Regions from separate parts of the Homo sapiens genome. Here regions 1, 2, 3 and 4 are each linked to region 5. The links are contacts of gene promoters, found by promoter capture Hi-C in blood cells and fetal thymus (Javierre and others, 2016). All regions are on one chromosome and are shown on one strand. The core of a region is centred on a gene start or on the middle of the fragment in contact, and the rest is flanking DNA. Distances in the headings are between cores, read along the strand shown.

Region 1 (2,700 bases), core at 148-2,647, 1.4 Mb before region 5:
CTTGTCAGTAATTGCTTTTATATTCACTTAAGATGAGTAAAAATTGATAATGATTATGGTTAGAAAAGTATCTTTATTTATATTTATATCTGGAGACTGGTAGCATAGCTTCAGTTTGTCCCCTTGGGTTTTAATATGTTGGGAATGGAGATGGGATGTTGTTTGCATCTAGCTAGTCAGCTTTTCATCTATCTAGTCTAATTCTGATTGATGGATCATCATATATATATATGTATATATACACATATATGTATAAATATGTATATACATATATAAATATATAAACGTATATATACATTTATATAAATATATAAATGTATATATACATTTATAAATATATAAATGTATATATACATATATAAATATATAAATGTATATATAAATATATAAATGTATATATACATATATAAATATATAAATGTATATATAATATATATATATATTTAGTACCTGCTATTCTCATATCTCCATGTTAGCAATTAGAGGACATAGAGGGCTTTATGGAAGAGAGAACCTTCTCTCAGAGGGCATATATTCTAACACAGGGGTGTCCAATATTTTGGCTTCCCTGGGCTACACTGGAAGAAGAAGAATCATCTTGGGCCACACATAAAATACACTAACGATAGTTGATGAGCTGAAAAACTTTTGCAAAAAAACCTCATGTTTTAAGAAAGTTCACGAGTTTGTGTTAGGCTGTAGGTTGGACAAGCTTCTTCTAACAGGAGAAAATAGAAAAGTAAAAATGTGATTAACATCTAGCATTGGGAAGACACAATAATGTGGGAGTTTAGAGAAATGAAAACTTATTTCTTTCATGGGGAAATTAATAATGAAGGGTTCATGGAAAACTCAATTCTAATCCTTGAAGGAATGGTAGAATTTTGACAAGTAGGTAGTGAGACTGAGCGTGCATATCAGGATCACTGTGAACCAAGCACAGATGAAAGAAACTGGAAAGGGTAGATTAAAGAGAGCTCCCAGAAAGAGAAGTTTCTTGGCTCTAAAGTGGAGTCAACTCTGGTCTAGACACATGGGATGATTTCCAGGCAAAAACCCCTGTCTTGGTTGCCGTTTATTTTCTTGACTGAGTTTGCGTTTCACTCGGGGGTGTTACCGATTATAATCCAGTTCCATCCAAAAGTATATGTTTTTAATGGTAGTGTCGGGATGGAAATTGAAGATTTTGTGTCCCTACTTCCCAAAATTCTTCCTATAATATCACTCAGCAGTGGAAACTTTCTTGAGCCAAATGAAGCTGCTTTGGAGAAAATTGTTCATGTAGCCAAATTCTGGAAATCTAGGTTCTTTTGCAATGTTTGCTGGTAAGTAGCTGTTTCATATTGAGGAAGTGGTAGAATCTTAAAGGCTGCACCTCAAAACTAAACAAAATCGAAACTCACCAGTACAATTCAAGAGGGGTTTTCACATTTTTTAAAAAGGAATACTGCTGTATTTAAAACATTTTAAGATTGCAAAAATTCATCATTATAATTTTTATTATCATCACTGGCATCACCATGACCAGTGTCACATTGTTTGGTCAAAAGCTGGAATGGAAATGTGATAGTTATCTTTGCCATATTATATATTGAGAAATGCGTTTAAAACTTTTCCGGAGATACCGTGATCTTAGCAAAAACTAATGTAATATTTGTAAAAACATTGTGAAGTGGCCAGATATACCTTTTAATGAAACTGACCAGAAGTACATCACAAATAGAAAAATACACGTGTGTGTGTATGTGTATACCATCCCTTCCCCCAAATATTGTTCAGATTAAAGTGTCTTTCTCTCTGTGACCTGCAAGTATCTTAACTTAGCATGTGTGTCCAATTTCCATAGTGAAGCCAAAAATTCAAATGATGGTTGATATTGGCTTAGGAAGAATTTATTAATGAATGACTGTGCTTGGTATAGAGTAAAAAAAAAAATTTATGACAAAGAGGATATTCTAGACTCATGTAAAAGATTTCAGTTAAGAACCTATGAATTCCTCAACCTTTTTCTTCACTTTTCAAAAAGTAAAGGATTTATATTGGAAATATTTTGCAACCCTACAACCTGAAACTCAAAGCTTTGGTCAGCAGGTGGTAATAATATTTCCAGGTTGAATATCCAATTTCATACATAACCCAATTTGTAAGTTTGAAAAGAAATATTAAACGATGTCAGTTTTAATGCTTGTTTGAATAATTGTTCTTTGTTATGTGCCCTCTTGGACATTATTGTCCACTAGTGCCCCAAACCATTGAATGCTTTTCTGTTCTCTTATGGCCACTGTGATTCTTCAATCTAGTTACTTCTAACTGCAAGATTAATTTTCTTCTGACATCTAATTTTCCCCTGATTTTATTAACATCTTATTATTCTTTTTCTGGCTCATTTTGAACAATTTCTCTTTTATATGGGGTGTATATTTGTAGTGTCCCACTTGTAAGGGAATTCTACACTTTAATCCTTAGTAATTTTGGTAGAATTGGGATAAGATGAGAGATAGTCCATAATTGTTTAAGGCTTGATTGTTTAAAGAAGGTTGAAAGCTTCAGAAAAGTGGAAGTGGATGAATGCATGCCATGTTCTTATTATTTTTTCAGTGTGAGTGTGTTTCACTGGAGTAACGATAGAGTTATTAGGAATTATTACCTTTAATTTACTTATGTGCACATTCATTCGTCCACTCATTCATTCATTCATTC
Region 2 (2,760 bases), core at 40-2,539, 1.1 Mb before region 5:
GCTTTTTATGGCAAGTACACGTTGGCAGTGGATTGCCGTGTTCCTCACCAAAAGGATCCTGGTTTGTTCAGCAACACCTCACTTCTCCACTCACAGTTCATTTATGATTCTGATGAGAGTGTTTTTTCAGGAAACACACATTTCACTTTTTGACCTAGGAGCATCTGTTAGAATTTTTTTTTAATACTACTTTGGCATTCTGAAAGTGTTAATGTCTTTCATATCTGTTTAATGCTATTTAGGGATATTTATGATCACCTCTTGGTTACTCAGGGTAAAGTGTGTCGCAATTTTTTTTAAACAGACAGGAAAGCATTCACATGAGGAAACAGATTGCTTTAAACATGTGCTTCCTGTGACAGTAAAAAGAACAAATTAGATTTAACACTGTGTAATGAATGCATAAATGTGTACATTTAAGCTTTTAAAAGCTTTATGTTCAGTTCTGGTCACAACAAAAATTGAGTCACCTGTAAAAATTAAAGATGCCCAGGGTACTCTCAGACTTTTGAAATGCCCAGCAATTGCAGTCCTCACCTGACGATGCCTCGTTGGAATTATAAAAAGCATGATCTATTAGTGCTGGAGAGAACTAGAACATTACAAGGCACATTCAGAGGTTAAACCAGGTTACAGTCAGATTCCGTACATTTAGCAAATAAATCAGAATTTGTTGTGGGGGGGAGAATACTTCACTCTCATCTTCCTCCCTAAGAATCAATGAAAAAATCAATTTTCGGGAACCCCATATATTCCTCTGTCTTTCATGAAAGAAAAAGAAGGAAACCTGATGTTTACTTACTAGCATTTACTACAATTTAATTATATAAGAAAATGACTCTTTTTCTTATGTAATTCAGTTTGTGTTTTGTATGCTGGCAGGGAGTGAATAGAATCTGAGTTAATATTTCCAGTTAGACTAGAGTGTGGAATTGGAGGGCCTGAATCCTCTCCCCGGAAGAAGAGGCACTCATGGCCATTTCTGTCTGAGCCTGCGGATAGTGCCTCTCCGTCCCCTGTGCTTTCAAAGCTAAGGATTTGTGGCACGCTTGCCATCTCTCTGGCCAAGGAGGGCCAGGAGAGAGTCCCTCGGGGGAGGGCACATAGTTTGAGGACATCTGACTCTCTTCTATCACATACTGAGGTACTAATATCAAAACAGACTGCTTGTCGTCGCACGGTGGGGCAGTGCTTTTTTTGGCTGCCGTGGTCGAAATGAAATGGGCAAGCTGTAGTCCGCTTGGCATCAGAATGGGCTAAGGGAAGCAGGGAAATCAGAGTCAGACTGTGAATGCAAGTCACAGCCAATGGTTAACTTCCTTTTTGTGTGTCACTTGGCAGCAGCGAGACTGATGGTGATTTTTTTTTTTAACATGGGTGAGAGTTCAGTGCCCTAGGAAGAGCCGTAGATGCTGTTATTGTGCTTCCTCATACAGTTGACTTGTGTTGATTTCTTGAGGCCAGTACAGCTGTTCCAAGAGCCAGCTCCAGGAGCTTTGTGTGTATGTACATGGCCATCGGACGTCGGATGAAAAAGGTAAACAGATGAGAGGTGATCCATACAAAATCTCACTGCTGATCACTAGGCAGTCTTAGGGGAATCAGGTTCTGGCATAAGGCAATAATACCAAAGAATAATATATAGTGCACTTGAAGGGATACTCCCTTGTATACAGACACCCAAAGATATTTTTAAATTATCACCACTCCGCACCCCTCATCTCACATACAGGATTCAAATCAATTTTGGACTGTCTGGAAAATGTAGGACTAAAATAGCCAGATTGAATTCAGATAAAATTACCTTCTGCTTTTTTGGGAGGTTGTTGCTTTTTGGTTAGCCACATTATTTTCTTTGAAGATTCATTTGGAAGAGAGTTTGGTAGAATTTCTAGCCTCTCTCAAGATTTTCCTCCCATTTCTCTGTTTGCAAAGAGCTGTTCCCCAAAGGCAAAAAGAGCGAGTTGCCATCTTGAGCGAATTGTATGTTTAGTGAACACCAAATGGTCTCAGAGTTACCCTAAATTTTCATTATATCTGGTTGCTTTCAAATACTATTTATTCCCCTCAAAACTCCTAACCATTTATATAAGATATCAGTAAGATGACCAACTTCTGACAACCCAAAAGCAGGGAAGGAAGCTTAGAAATAGAATACCATTTGTCTGGTAATTAGAGTGTATCTCTTAAGAGTTCGAGAGAATTCTGATTAACCTTTCTGTTCCCACATTCTCACGTAAAATTAGCACACCTTTTAAATTATTATCTAGTATTTAAACACATATTTTTGAGTCTTCTTAATGCAACAGGTTCTGGGGACACTAAAAGTGTGTTATAGTTTTCTAAAAAACTTCATTTTTCTTACATTTTAAATGTTCTGTTTGTGCAAAATTTCGAGAATCACCATAAGGGCTTCTTTGCATTTTTAATTTAGTAACTAACATATGAATAAATTTGCATATTAATTAGTTGCAGATTAAATCATGCATACATAATTGCCTCCTTACTGTGTTTAATGTTTGTCAAAATCTCCAGCCTGGTTTGATGGATGTCGTATGAAAGATTACAATTTGATGTACCCTTGGAAGTATTTACACCAATAATGCAAGATTCTTAATAGCAGAATTTTCTAGTTATATACAGTTACTAATAAACATGTAAGATAGGTACATGTCCCTTTGACTAAAATTTTTTTCTTTGCACCAAATCATTTACTATTCATAATCATTAATGCATCTCCTAATTATACAGCATATGTCT
Region 3 (2,700 bases), core at 181-2,680, 1.0 Mb before region 5:
ACAGACTACCAAGATTGATTTAATACACCATATGCTAAAGATTACCCTGGAATATCTATCTGGTTCATGAATTAATCTGGCTTAGAACTTTAACTTCGAATGACATGTTAGTATGTGGCTTGTCTAGTAGAAACATTATGTCCTTTTCTCTTTGAGGACTTGGTTTCACAGTAATTTTATTATTAGAGTAGTCACATAATGTTCACTTTATATTTTACAAGAATATTGAGCCTTGAAGTAGTCAGGCGATGAACAAGCACAGAGCATAAGAGTAATAAGAATTGTATCCAGCAATGTGAAGGCATCTTAGTTACCAAGACCACCAGCAGAGAACAATAAACTAGTTTGATTTAAATCTCCTCCATTTCCTGTGCACGATCAGGAAGCCCAACTTCCCCCTGAATTCCTAGGAATCCCTCCTGTTAAAAAATAGTGCATTGTAGTCTATATACTTGCGTTTGTATTTTAAAATGGTTGTAGTAGGAGTGCTGGAAATGTTCCTTCTTTTTGTCATCTTTATAGATAAGCACATGGCATTGTTATGCTGTTTCTAATGGTTTAATAACACGAGGGTCACTCGGACACAGTTTAGAAAAACCTACTTTGAAAGCAGTCATCTTCTCTCAGGCAAACACAGTGTGAATTGTGCTGCTTATTCTTTTGATGCCTTCATGATGTTCCCAGCCTTAGATGATGGGTGTGCATTAAAGGGGCAACACATTTTCCAAATTCTGATTTTTAGTAGTTGATCCCAAGGCACCACTCATCCCAGTGTTTTGTTGAGGGTGTGTTCTAATGGGAATGAACATTTCCCCAAAGCTGAGGCTGAGACAGAGGGTGGTCTAGCATGTAACCCAAGATACAAAACCTTTCTTTCTGCTTCATCTTCTAGCCAGCAACACCACCTGTGTTCAAGCCATCTGAACAATACTTGGGTGGCAGGCAGTGTCGAAGCCTCCTACAAAAATTACAGTTCCTCTTAATAACTGCTCATCTTCCATTCATATTTGTATGTTACAGCTCTACTTAGGGACTGATTATATTTCTCTTGGGCAAGATAAATTGATTAGAGCCAAAATTAGAAATCGATAAAGTCTTTACCAAGCAAATGCATTAGTTTTCATCTTTCTGTTACATGGACATTTTGATCATCTCTAATATGAATTGACAAAAATCTTGGGCCTCAAAGAGTAATCAAGTCCTGTTACATCAAACCCACATTTTCAGCTTTAATGTATCTTGCTAAACATGGCCCACTTCTCAATGCAAAAAAAAAAAAAAAATTCTGCCACTTGAGAATTAAAATATATTTCTTTTCCAGTTATACCCTTTGTTATATCTGTCACACAAATAAAAAGAGAAATCTGTAAGAGAAAGACTCATGTAGCTTAACATGTTCAGGCAATCTAGAAAATGTAGCTTCTCCAGTGTTTCCTGGACCAGAACAAAAGGCATTCCAAGTGAAAGGGCAAACTGGCCCCAGTAAACTGCTTTGAAATTTAAGCCCTTGGGTTTGGCACTCCAGCTGTTGCAAGGTAAAATCGCTTCATGTTAAAAAATAGTCTGTTCTTATCAGTGGTTTCCATGGGTAGCCTTTGTAGTTTTCTGAAATATTTTCATGACGCGATGAGGTAAGAAGTTGATTCTATTTTTAATTCTATTTCCTGAGTCATAATATCTCCCTGCATAAAACAGGCACTGATAGAATGTTTAGTTAGAAAGGTGTAGTTCTAAAGAAATCAGATTGGTCATAATATCTTGCCTCTTCTAACGTGTGATTTTTGGGGCGTATATATTTAGTTTTTAAATGCTCCTAAAATATTTGTATTGGTTTTCAATACTTTGTTTAGTTTCATAAAAATATATATATTATTTGTAATCTTCATTTTAAAGTTGTTTAAAGGAAGAATTAATCTTTTGAAAGCCACTACTGTAGCAGATATTATCTGTAGTGAAGCAATATCTTGTTCTTTTTTGGCTTAGGTTCTTTGTTAGATAATGTGATTTTTCCAATGTAGCTCTGAACTTTTTGTGAAAATCTATATTCAAATCAAGCAGATATCACAGATTATTTTGACTGATAGATCTAATTTTTAGGTATATAATAATGAAAAGAAATATCGCTTCTAGGAAAAAAAAAAAGATAAGTACCCCCAAATACCATGGTAATACATACTGAAAAAAGGTTAGTATCATCTATATTTCACATCATTATTATTTTCTCTTTAGAATGGTTTTTAGGTTTGTTTGTTGTTCTTGTTGTTTGAGGCAGAGTTTTGATCCTGTTGCCCAGGCTAGAGTGCAATGGCGCAATCTCAATCTCGGCTCACTGCAACCTCCGCCTCCCAGGTTCAAGCGATTCTCCTGCCTTAGCCAGGCATAGTGGTGCATGCCTGCAATCCATGTTTTTAGTTTTTAAAGGACTCCTTAATGCAGAAATTCTTCTCATTTTCACACTAGATATAATTTGTTGTATTTTATCTTATATTAAATATTTTTAATACTCTTGATATCTGAGCTGCTCCCAGTGGTCCAATTGTATGATGTCAGACCCTCATTTCAAAGAACTTGCTTATACAATACCTATCATGAGTACTAATGACTCATGTATTTTAATATCATAACTTTGTGATATGGAAGTTTATTTTGTCACGAGATAATTGTGTTCTTCTTATCATGTGCCAGATTTCTTTCAGTATT
Region 4 (2,700 bases), core at 152-2,651, 1.4 Mb before region 5:
CAGTTGAGAAGCCTTGGGTATTATGTAGGATAATCTTCACTCAGCTCCAAGGGTAGGCTTTGATAGATTTGAGTCTCAGCAACATAATTACTTAGGGATGAATGTAAACCAGTCATGACATAATTTGAGTCAAAGGCAAGTATATTCCTAAAATGGTCCAGTCTCACCTCAGCTGAGGCTTTAGTTTCAAGGTTCAGGGGGCACCAACAGCTATCTCCGTCTAGAGGCAAACAAAAGAGTGATTGCTTCCATTTTTACTGGTAGCCATCTTGGTATCATGAGGGAGTTAGCCTGACATAAAATTGGGCTGAGTTGAGAGAAAAGTAGAGAAATGAAGCTGGAGCTGTATTTGATGGCTCTAAACCTTTTTGGATTTGCAAGCCCTTTATCATTTAAGCCAGTTTGAATTGATTTTTCTATTGCTTCGCAACCCTGATGGCTTTTCTGCTAATCTATACACAGCATTTCTTGAATGCTCGTTTTCATGGCCATAGCCACAGCCCTATTTCAGAATCTCATAAGCAGTAGTTAAGTGAACTGCAGTAGCTTTCTAACTGGTCTCTGCCTTCAGTTTCTTTTTACCTTAATTCATCCTCCATGTTGCCTCCAGAATGTTCTTCTCAGGCACATCTTATCACTGCCACCATGTGATCATCCTAATGGTTCCATGCATTGTGAAAAAAGGCCAATGGCACATGTATACCTATGTAACAAACCTGCGCGTTCTGTGCATGTATCCCAGAACTTAAAGTATAATAAAAAAATAAAAAATACAAAATAGAAAAAAGGCCAATGGATCCAAATTTGCTGGGTTTTAACAGTTTAGTCTTTTGGTTCTTCTCACAAACCCTAACAAGATCCTTACTCTCTAGCCTTCTCATCTTTGCCAGAGTTAATGCTTCAGCCCAGGACATTCTTTTCTCTCTATCTGCTTCATGGGAATACCACTTTTCTTTCCAGATTCAACTCTAGTCTCATCTCTTCTAAGAAGCCTTCTAAGATCTCTCCAGCTGATAGCAATGACTCCTTGCATTATAGTTTTACGGCATGATTTTACCACTTGATAACTCTCTATATAGTTTGTCAGGGGTTTGGGTGATTTATTCTTGTCTAGCCTACCCATTAGCATGTAAAGGCTGGGAAGTTAAGGGCCCCAGTTTTTCATCTTGAATGAATTCTTCATTGCCCCTTGCATAGTGCTTTTCATAGACAAACTGCTCAATGTCTTGTGTCCTCAATGTCATGTGTCCTATGCTTAACTGACTAGAGCAAAGACTTCCTTTAGGAGAGGATATGGAAATAAAGTTGGAAAAGTTAGGTGGGGAGGGGGTTGGAGGGCAGCTTTTGGAGGATTTTAAAATCCAGATTAGATATATTAAGTGCAATTATTTTACTGCACTTTGGAATAGGCAAAAGATTATCTGTTTTCCAAAATTTCTTTCATTCCTTCTATATTATTTACTCTTTTTAAACTTTTACCTTTTTTTTTTTGAGACAGAGTCTTGCTTTGTCACCCAGGCTGGAGTGCAGTGCTGCAATCTTGGCTCACTGCAACCTCCGCTTCCCAGGTTCAAGTGATTCTCGTGCCTTGGCCTCCTGAGTAGCTGGGGATACAGGCACACACCACCACACCCAGCTAATTTGTGTATTTTTTTAGTAAAGACAGGCTTTCACCATGTTGGCCAGGCTGGTCTTGAACTTCTGACCTCAGGTGATCCGCCCACCTCAGCCTTTTTAACCATCTCCTTTTCTTTGGGGGAGAGGGAAGGGGGAAAGCAGCTCTCGGGTTTGAAATATCATGCAGTTTGAGAAGAAATAGAATGCAAAGATGATTAGCTTTCTTTTCTCCTCTCCATTATAATCCCATAATAGACTTCATGAATACCCTTGCTAGCAAAGCAATGAGGGCCATTGCATTAGACTGTTCTCACATTGCTATAAGAAACTACCTAAGACTGGGTAATTTATGAAGAAAAGAAGTTTAATTGACTCACAGTTCCACAGGCTGTACAGGATGCATGGCTGGGGAGGCCTCAGGAAACCTATAGTCACAGCAGACAAAGGGGAAGCAGGCACATCTTCACATGGCACAGCAGGAGAGAGAGAGCGAAGGGGAAGGGTTACATACGTTTAAACAGCCAGATCTCATGAGAAGTCACTCACTATTATGAGAACAGCAAGGGGAGTCCGCCCCCATGATTCAATCACCTCCCATCAGGCCCCTCCTCCAACACTGAGGATTACAATTTGACATGAGATTTGGGTGGGGACACAGAGACAAACCATATCACCCATCTACTTGAGCAGTGGCTATAAACTTTTTTTTTTATGATAACCTAGTATGCATGTACTATACTGTATATTATACAGCTGAAACAAGACTTTTGTAAATCAGCAATACTCTTGTTATGATGCAAGTTAGTATTTTCCGTTATGCCATTTCACTTCAAACAAACAAAAACAAAAAGTTGATCTAAATCAATTTCATGACCATTAAAGAAACGTGTTCTTCTCAGGCACATCTGATCACTGTTGTCACATGCACGATTCTAAAGGTTCCACACATTGTGAAAAAAAGCTAATGGATCCAAACTTCCTGAGTTTTAACACTTTAGTCGACATATGAAAAATGTGGCATTAAAGCATATGTATCCTAATTACTAGGTTACAACTGTTGAATGAGCTAAGTGCTTTTGCCAG
Region 5 (2,700 bases), core at 24-2,523:
TTAGCCAGGCTGGTCTTGAACTCCTGACCTCAGGTGATCTGCCCGCCTCTGCCTCCCAAAGTGTTGGGATTACAGGCGTGAGCCACCGCGCCCGGCCCACAGATGACTTCTAAATGAATGTCTCCAGTACTGATCTCCTCAGAACTCATTTCTTGATGATTTTTTACATTCACATTTCTAAATTTCTTGTAGGAAACCACAAATTAGTGTCTTTCAACTAAAGGACATTAAAAGAAGACTAAGGTCAGGTTTAGAGACAGACAAGTTTGTGTGTATGAGTTAATGTTTGCATATACTGCAAAGATAAACCAAATTAATTTTAGATTTTTGTTGCTTTATATTAATCAACTTTTTCTATACGTTAAACTTGGTCCTCAGTTTTTAGGGCATATGAGTATAGAAACCCAAGATAGCTTATCATCAGGCTGATAACATGTGCTTTACATTTTTCAATCTTCCAAATATTTCATAATATATTATCTTGAATATCAATAGCACACTTCTATAAGTGTTCGACAACTTATAGAAAATATGCATTTCTAAAATTCAAGTTGGCAGACCGAAAAGAATACCACACAGTTTCCTAAAGGCTTGTGACAGTAAGTTAGGCTGGACTTTCAACATAATGGAATATTTACCAAATAAAAGGCCACTGATTTTTGTATTAGACAAAGACATCTGGAAATTTCTAGATGGATTTAGGGATTCTGGTCATTCTAAGGAGAATCTAGAGGTAAGCCCCATCTGACTCATGGGCATATTCCAAGTTATCATTTCCTTTCCTACATCCTTACAAGGTTCCAGGAGAATCTGTCAATGGCTCTGAAGCCAGGCTCAGGAGGGAACTGGTATTCAGCGAATGGGACACTTTGCTTCATTCCTTCATTATAAGCTCCCCTGCAAGCTTTGTGCAGAGGGGCGGGAAAAGGGGCTATCACCCCCTTAAATGAATAGCCGAGTTGGTATGTAATATAAGATCTATTTTGCTTGTTATTCATTAATTGGGAAGCAAACATAGGTAAAATCACATAATGGTGGAGGTTACCCCGTTTGAAACAAACTAACCACAGTCACTATGACACCCCCAGCTGGTGGCTAGCCCGACCAACCTTCCCAGCTCCGCGCGCCCAGTGGGGGCCGGAAAAGCGCGGGAGGGGGCGTGGCCCCGAGAAGGCGGAGACAAGATGGCCGCCCATAGCGCTTGGAGGACCTAAGAGGCGGTGGCCGGGGCCACGCCCCGGGCAGGAGGGCCGCTCTGTGCGCGCCCGCTCTATGATGCTTGCGCGCGTCCCCCGCGCGCCGCGCTGCGGGCGGGGCGGGTCTCCGGGATTCCAAGGGCTCGGTTACGGAAGAAGCGCAGCGCCGGCTGGGGAGGGGGCTGGATGCGCGCGCACCCGGGGGGAGGCCGCTGCTGCCCGGAGCAGGAGGAGGGGGAGAGTGCGGCGGGCGGCAGCGGCGCTGGCGGCGACTCCGCCATAGAGCAGGGGGGCCAGGGCAGCGCGCTCGCCCCGTCCCCGGTGAGCGGCGTGCGCAGGGAAGGCGCTCGGGGCGGCGGCCGTGGCCGGGGGCGGTGGAAGCAGGCGGGCCGGGGCGGCGGCGTCTGTGGCCGTGGCCGGGGCCGGGGCCGTGGCCGGGGACGGGGACGGGGCCGGGGCCGGGGCCGCGGCCGTCCCCCGAGTGGCGGCAGCGGCCTTGGCGGCGACGGCGGCGGCTGCGGCGGCGGCGGCAGCGGTGGCGGCGGCGCCCCCCGGCGGGAGCCGGTCCCTTTCCCGTCGGGGAGCGCGGGGCCGGGGCCCAGGGGACCCCGGGCCACGGAGAGCGGGAAGAGGATGGATTGCCCGGCCCTCCCCCCCGGATGGAAGAAGGAGGAAGTGATCCGAAAATCTGGGCTAAGTGCTGGCAAGAGCGATGTCTACTACTTCAGGTACCTCCCTGGGGGCGGGGAGGGGGTGGCGGGGTCAGGCCGGGGTCAGGGGTCAAGAGCGGGCCTGGGCAGAGGATGAGCGCTGGGGCCCGGGGGGCATGTGGCAGGGACAGGCTGGTTTGGTGGTGGAAGGTGGCGGAACCCTTGGGTGAGAGTTGACCCCAGTGCGGTGGGAGGCAGTGTCAAAAGGTGAGGGCCCGCAGGAGGGCATCTTATGTGGAAGGCGTCGGGGAAGATGGTTTGCGAAGAAAGGGTTAGCCTGGCAGGGATGGTTAGTCCACTGAAGGGTTAAAAGGAGGTGTAATTCATCGAAACTATAAAACCCAGTCACTGTTGGCTCCTGTCCCAGCCTGTCCCAGATTCATCATCACAAGTGTTAAGCATGCACATGTGGAAGAATGAGCTATCTACAGTAACAAGGTTTCATTTACTTCATCCAAGAAAGTTTTGTATAAAGCAGCTATTTGGAATGCCTGAAGTTTTTTTGGAACTTCTTGGTATTGCAGAATATACTCTTTTGAAACTGACACACTGTACTAAGTTTTTAGACTCCTAGACCAAAATTTGCTCCCCAGGGAACATTTGTCAATGTCTGGAGACATTTTCGGTTCTCACACCTGGGGAGGGTGTGATACTGGCATCTAGTGGGTAGAGGCCAGAGATGCTGCTACATATTCGATAATACAAAGGAAAGCTGCCACAACAAAGAATGATCTGGCCCAAATTGTCACCTGTGCTGAGGTTGAGACATCCTGTTTTAAATGATTCAAGGTTTT

The links. The method cuts DNA at HindIII sites, captures the fragments that hold promoters and counts their contacts. A CHiCAGO score of 5 or more calls a contact.
Region 1: a contact is called between a fragment that was not itself captured here and the fragment with the promoter of MBD2 in region 5, in 1 of 17 cell types (neutrophils). The highest score is 9.1, in neutrophils.
Region 2: a fragment that was not itself captured here is called in contact with the fragment with the promoter of MBD2 in region 5 in 1 of 17 cell types (monocytes); the score reaches 5.9 in monocytes.
Region 3: a fragment that was not itself captured here is called in contact with the fragment with the promoter of MBD2 in region 5 in 1 of 17 cell types (M1 macrophages); the score reaches 5.2 in M1 macrophages.
Region 4: a contact is called between a fragment that was not itself captured here and the fragment with the promoter of MBD2 in region 5, in 1 of 17 cell types (neutrophils). The highest score is 9.8, in neutrophils.

Annotation. Positions count from the first base shown.
Region 1 is chr18:55,574,812-55,577,511 of GRCh38, reverse strand. The region is part of intron 3 of TCF4 (transcription factor 4); the gene reads left to right. Among named protein-coding and RNA genes, the nearest start is that of TCF4, 12 kb to the left of the region's middle. The HindIII fragment of the contact is 1,366 bases long and covers 715-2,080 here.
Region 2 is chr18:55,336,624-55,339,383 of GRCh38, reverse strand. The region is part of intron 8 of TCF4 (transcription factor 4); the gene reads left to right. Among named protein-coding and RNA genes, the nearest start is that of TCF4-AS1, 110 kb to the left of the region's middle. The HindIII fragment of the contact is 1,711 bases long and covers 434-2,144 here.
Region 3 is chr18:55,263,173-55,265,872 of GRCh38, reverse strand. The region is part of intron 11 of TCF4 (transcription factor 4); the gene reads left to right. Among named protein-coding and RNA genes, the nearest start is that of LINC01929, 140 kb to the right of the region's middle. RefSeq lists an enhancer at 1,454-1,733. The HindIII fragment of the contact is 4,499 bases long and covers 1-2,700 here.
Region 4 is chr18:55,596,458-55,599,157 of GRCh38, reverse strand. It overlaps LOC105372126 (a long non-coding RNA gene), which reads right to left. Exons shown (of 3, transcript XR_935479.3): 2 at 1,995-2,078. It also overlaps a transcript of TCF4 not described here. Among named protein-coding and RNA genes, the nearest start is that of TCF4, 9.6 kb to the right of the region's middle. The HindIII fragment of the contact is 2,893 bases long and covers 1-2,700 here.
Region 5 is chr18:54,223,242-54,225,941 of GRCh38, reverse strand. It overlaps MBD2 (methyl-CpG binding domain protein 2), which reads left to right and starts at 1,273. Exons shown (of 7, transcript NM_003927.5): 1 at 1,273-1,924. The coding sequence starts at 1,383. RefSeq lists an enhancer at 1-432 and a silencer at 1,183-1,572. The HindIII fragment of the contact is 9,949 bases long and covers 907-2,700 here.